2 separate regions of the Homo sapiens genome follow, and region 2 is linked to region 1. The links are contacts of gene promoters, found by promoter capture Hi-C in blood cells and fetal thymus (Javierre and others, 2016). All regions are on one chromosome and are shown on one strand. The core of a region is centred on a gene start or on the middle of the fragment in contact, and the rest is flanking DNA. Distances in the headings are between cores, read along the strand shown.

Region 1 (2,776 bases), core at 143-2,642:
AGTTCACATTTTACTACAAATGTGGAGAGGTTTTTTTTTTTCCAATCAAGGCACCATATTAACATTTCTTAGGTTACATCTTTGTAATCTTCAATTATAGTAAGATAAAAACCAGTAGCAAAGCATATCACCCAACTTAAAATTCAGAACAATACTTAGACATATGCAGCTTGCACACACATTAACCTGTTTCTCCCAACAAAATATTTGTAATTTCCAAAATCCTATCAGCTTTTTCACACAATATGGTCCCTCCAATTTGAGGGGTAGTAACATAGTCTCCTTACTAAAGAGATTAGTCTAAAAAAAGTAAAATCGCCAAAAGAATGTAAGAATATCAGTGGCTATAGGCTAGAGCAATATCATCTTTTAAAGCCTAATATGTTCATGAAATCTCACTTTAAGAAGGTGATATCTAAACATAAAATTTATTGACAAAAAACAATTAGTATTGATAAACCACCACAAAATGATTTTAAATGAAAGTAGAAGACATTATTAAAGCTCAAGATTTTTGCGTGTACTGATTTCATGCCTCAGGTTATTTCCATATCAAATTTAAAGAGATACTGGAAAATAGAAAACAAAATCCATCAACTGTAATCCATTTCCCTTACTCTTTTGTGAAATCATCACAAGGTGTGAAGGATTGTTTCTGTTTCCTCTATCTTTAACAAGCCTGTAACCTCTCAAGTGAAAGAACATGCACCTGTCAAGCTCATAGTGCGGGATGTACACACAGATGTGTTTAATAAATATCTGCCCACAGGGAGATTAGAGGTTTGCTTTGAGAATCAGGGAACAGGCTAGCTCATGTGTTGACGCTTTGGCATCTATCATACAATCCGCCACCTCGTTCCCTTACCAAAATATCCTCAAAGGAAATCCTCTTTGAGTCTTTCAGAAGAGTTATGAGTTTGAGGACCCAAAACGTTGAGGAAAGATCCACCCCAGGGAAGGGGGAGTGGCTGCAGAGAACAAACATAAGTAGGATTTAGGTGGCTCAGTGACGTCAGGAGGAAGCAGCGATGGAAGGGATGGGGTGCAAACTCACCTGGAGAAGCAGAAGCTGCACACATGTCAAAGGTCAAAGGGCATAGCCTCAGGGACTCCCCAAACGCAGGAAAAGTGAAACGCCCACTCCTGGGCTCTCGCCGTCAGGGGTACATCTAAGGGCTCAGCTGTTCCTACCTTTGACGCCAGGGACAAACCCTACCAGGCACAGTTGGGATTGGCAGTAAGGCAAGGAAAGCCTGCCCCAGATTTCAGAGCCAGCGCTGGGGAATCTCCCTGTCCTCTCCGCCACCCCCTCCCGCGCCCGAGACCTGAGACACCTTCTCTCTCACACCCACCCTCTCCAGGCCCTCTCGCGCTGAACAGCATCGGTCTCTATGGCGACCTGAAACCGCAGCTCCCATTGGCCTGTTCAATATGAGGGCCGGGCCAATGGGGAGGGCCAGCCCTCTCCTTCCCGCCAATGGGGTGGCGGGAGCTGGCCCGGGGACGGCGGCGTGCTGACGTTCCCGGGAGCCCGGGGCTGGCCGGGCGGGAGGGCTGGCAGCGGGGCGGGCGGCGGCGGCGGCCTCTGGGCAGTAGAGGGGGCTCCGGGGCTGAGTCCGCGTCGACGCCGGCCGCGGAGGCGGCACCATGGGCAAGGGGTAGAGGGGCAAGTTGGCCACCGCCGCCGCCGGGGGTGGTGGGAGAGCCGCTCCGGGGGCGGGGGCCGGTGGGGGAGGGAGGGGCGGGCAGCCGCGCCGCCGCGGCACTTTTTTAATTTTTTCGGGTGCCGCAGCGGCGACCCCTCGGCGCCGATGTCCCTGATCCCTGGAGCGACGACGGCCGCTGCCTAAGCTGGAAAGTAAGTGTGTGGGCTCGCGGGAGGGCGCGGAGACTCCTGCCCACGAGACCCTCGGCCCTCGCCCCGAACACGCGCCAGGGCCAGGACCTGCGCGCCGGGGGCCGGGGGCCTCCCTCCCGCTGCCGCGTCCCCAGCGCCTCGCGGCCGCCGCGGCTTTCCTGCCCCGCCTCGTGTTCCTGCCCGCACTCGCCTGCTGCTCCCCTCCCCCCGGCAGGCGCACAAGTTTCACCCTCCATTTGCTTTTCCCGGCGATTCCTCTCCCCGGTCTCCCGTACGCGCAGCGCACGACCTCTGCCCACGCTGGGCTGTTCGGATTCAGAGCTCCCAGCCCCGAACTTGAGCGCCGCGCTGAGCCCTGCTGGACGCCCTCGCGGCGGCTTCCCCGCTGCCTGCCGCCGCGCGCCCCAAGTCGCCCTCGACACCACTGGGCGCCCGCCCTCCTCAGCACTCGGGGCCGGCTGTCTGTCCTTCTAGCCCCAGATCCTGCACCTTGGTCCCCTCCCCGTCTTCCCACGCCCCTGCTGCCCGCGCGGTCTTGCGTTTGTCCCCGAAGTCCTGTACTCCTTGCCGGTCCTGCCCACCCCTCTGCCTAGTGCGCCCCTCTCTACCGGCCGCGGATCCTCACGCTCCACCCCTCCCGGCTCCCCAGCGCCGAGCCTCGCCGCTGCCCTCCTGCGCCGCCGCTTCCTCCTCTCCCTGCCAGGAGTTGAAGCGGAGCTGCGGCACCTCCCTGGCGGATCTGGTATCCCCGCCCGCTGCCGAGGCTGCCGGCCCTCTCCCCTGGACCGCTACCCGGAGAGCGAGCGGCGGGGCCGGGATTTGGCTGCGTGTTGGCTGAGTGCGACACACCGCGAGCGCGGGCAGTGGAGGTGCCGCGGCGGCCGTGGCCGCTCGGGGCGCAGCGGTAGTCAGGTGTGT
Region 2 (2,776 bases), core at 127-2,626, 1.2 Mb before region 1:
CGCTGTTGCGCTAACCTGAGTGAGTTCCTATGAAATTTCTGGAGAGCTCTCCTAATGAAACAGCCTTCTGCTGATGCCTCCGCTATACTATATCAAAATGCACCAAGTATTTTAAAAAGTGATTTTAACAAATTCCTTCTATTTTCCTTTGTTGTCTTCCTTAAACAAATTTCAGTGAAGATGTAGTTTGCTCCCTTCTGAAGCAAACCAGCAGGGAGCGTTATTAACATTTTTAAAAAATTAGGACCTTTCTCCAGGTAATTTACAACAAATTAAGTAGATCATTATTTTAGATAGACAATCGTGGAAAGTTCCAAGAAAATAAACTCCACAACTTCTTTTTGTTACTTGCTTCGTTTCCCTTCTTTCAACCTCCACTACGGAATTTAGATCCAGTGAAAGTTTTGTGTTTTGTAATAAGAACAAACATTTTCTTATCGAACCAACAATATTTGAAGCTAATAATCTCACCAATAATGTATTTTTCACTGGATTAAACTGCTGGCAAACAGTCTATAGCTCCGTTTCCCTTTTTTCAACCTCCACAAGCAGAAATTTAAATCCAGTGAAAGTTTTGGTTTTTTGTAATAAGAAGAAATATTTTCTTATTGAAACGACAACATTTGAAGCTAATGAAAGAATCTCACCAATAATGTATTTTTACACTGGATTAAACCGCTGGCAAATAGCCTAATGTTTAACAATTCTGTCATAAATTGTGCGGAATGTCTACTTCCTAAATTGGAAAATGAAATAATACAACATGGATAATTTAAAATTCATACACTGCCTATTTTTTTTAAAGATTAAAATGGTTTACAGTAAAAACATGGATCAATTATTTTTAAATAAAAAGGAAAATTCTGAAAACAACTAATAATGAAATGAAGAATAACAATTCCAAAACACTTCAGAGATGATGTCTATATGAAGAAAAGTATTAGGTTGGTGTAAAAGTACCTTCCATGGCAAAAACCTCAATTAAATAGTTTCCTCAGTAATTTCTAAGAAAAAGGAAAAAAAAATCTTCAGGTCAAATGAGGGAGGGACATGTAAGGGACAGAAAAGTTTTATCTTTCCTTCCAATGCTTTTCGGTTCTTGGAAGGATTATACAAAATAGACACAAATAGTTAAACAGGGGGTTCCCAAACACTGTCCTGACCAATGTTACTTGTGCTGTCTCAGGGTTCCATGGTCAAGCACATTTGAGAAACATTTGTACAACATTCTGACAGCAAGCTGAACATTAACACCCTGAAGATTTTGAGAAGTTCTGGAGTAGAACCACCTGTTCGGCTCTGTGGAAACCAGAATTTTCCAAATTTGTTTGAAGATAGAATATTTCTGCATGATCCACAAATACAGGAGCTTACATAATATTTATCTCTGCTTCAGTACAGAGAGCAATTGCAGCATGCTTTCCTTCCTTTAAGCCCCGAGATTATTCTACCTTCATGTCTTTCTATTCACCTTCCTCTCTGAAGTTCAGGGGTGGGACTGTGGGGGCATTGAATCCTTCTGTGCCTTGTGATGCCCACATTTACTAACAGTGAGCTGTCTCCTCCCATATTTGTCATTTTAAATTGCTAATAGAGCTTTCTCTGAGGATTTTTGATAGAGATTCCATCCTTCCATAGTTGCTTTGTTTCTGCCTGTGCCAGGCACCTCAGAAGTAATTAACAACCTGGTACTATTTTTAATGTTTGTTTCTATGCCTTGAAAGTCTGTGATGGTTCCTATCCAAGGCAGGTGGTGTAAATATTCATCTCAAATCCAAATGAAGCCTGGTGTAAAGTTTCAGATTCTCAGGGACAATCCAGCTTCCTTGTTTTCTCCCTTTGCTAATGGGCAAATTGTTTTTCCCAGTGCAGCATTCAACTGAAGATCTGTTTTTCCGCTGTTATGTGGAAGACCTGAATTCCAGATTTTTGGTTTACACATACCTCTGTTTTTCTTCCATCCATATGAGGGAACAAGTCTTTCTTGCCAACCTTTGCAAGTTTCCCTGTAGCCTTTAATTTTTTCCGCATATTCTGATCCCTGAAGATGTCCCTTACTTTCTTGTTCACTAAGCTAAGCATGTAAAATTGAGGACCAATGTACTGAGCCCCCTTTTATGAAGTCTGGCAATTCTGTGAGCATCCAGTCTGCATCAGTGCAGCACCCTGAGTTAGAGCTCTTTGTTAGGCATCATAGAACAGGAAGGACACAAATAGTGTCCCTGGCAACAAAGACTTCAGCTCCTCCCAGCTCAGGAGGCTTTCCCAGGACATGTCCTATAGATTCGGCTCTGCACAGCTGTTCGAGAAATCTGAAAACCCTAAGTTGCACTGTTAACCCATCATCTTGTTAGCCCTGCCCAGGATGTCAAAGGGGGAAAGGAAATCAACATTTTTCTGCATTAAATGGTGACTTAAAGAAAGCTACCTCCATATTTGACCCTGTAAATCCATTAAAAACCTGGGGGCCTGCCAGAAAGTGCCTTTATGCTTGGCTCTGTATTAGCTTTCGTGACTTTCCTATAATGAATTGTAGCTTGCTTGGGTCATTAAGAAGATTCTGACAGGGAATCAGCTGGAATCTGCTGTTCTTTGAAGGACTCAATTTATCTATGATTCAGTGCTTAAGCAGTCAAAAGGCTTGAAGGGGTCAGTCAGGGAACATAGCTCATAACTCTTATAGGTGCATTGACTTTTAGTATATGCATTAGATAAACTTAAGACAAGAAAATAATTACTTTTCTTGCCACCTTTGCTCATTTGTTATTTAGCATTC

The links. The method cuts DNA at HindIII sites, captures the fragments that hold promoters and counts their contacts. A CHiCAGO score of 5 or more calls a contact.
Region 2: a contact is called between a fragment that was not itself captured here and the fragment with the promoter of CCDC148 in region 1, in 1 of 17 cell types (neutrophils). The highest score is 7.3, in neutrophils.

The regions. Positions count from the first base shown.
Region 1 is chr2:158,455,361-158,458,136 of GRCh38, forward strand. CCDC148 (coiled-coil domain containing 148) reads right to left here and starts at 1,393. Exons shown (of 14, transcript NM_138803.4): 1 at 1,055-1,393. The coding sequence starts at 1,079. PKP4 (plakophilin 4) reads left to right here and starts at 1,592. Exons shown (of 22, transcript NM_003628.6): 1 at 1,592-1,858. LOC124907900 reads right to left here and starts at 2,774. Exons shown (of 1, transcript XM_047446754.1): 1 at 1,771-2,774. The coding sequence starts at 2,094. The coding sequence ends at 1,771. RefSeq lists silencers at 1,297-1,591, 1,322-1,691, 1,912-1,961, 2,212-2,261, 2,282-2,341 and 1 more. The HindIII fragment of the contact is 15,946 bases long and covers 1-2,776 here.
Region 2 is chr2:157,302,706-157,305,481 of GRCh38, forward strand. The region is part of intron 7 of GALNT5 (polypeptide N-acetylgalactosaminyltransferase 5); the gene reads left to right. Among named protein-coding and RNA genes, the nearest start is that of ERMN, 22 kb to the right of the region's middle. The HindIII fragment of the contact is 2,838 bases long and covers 1-2,776 here.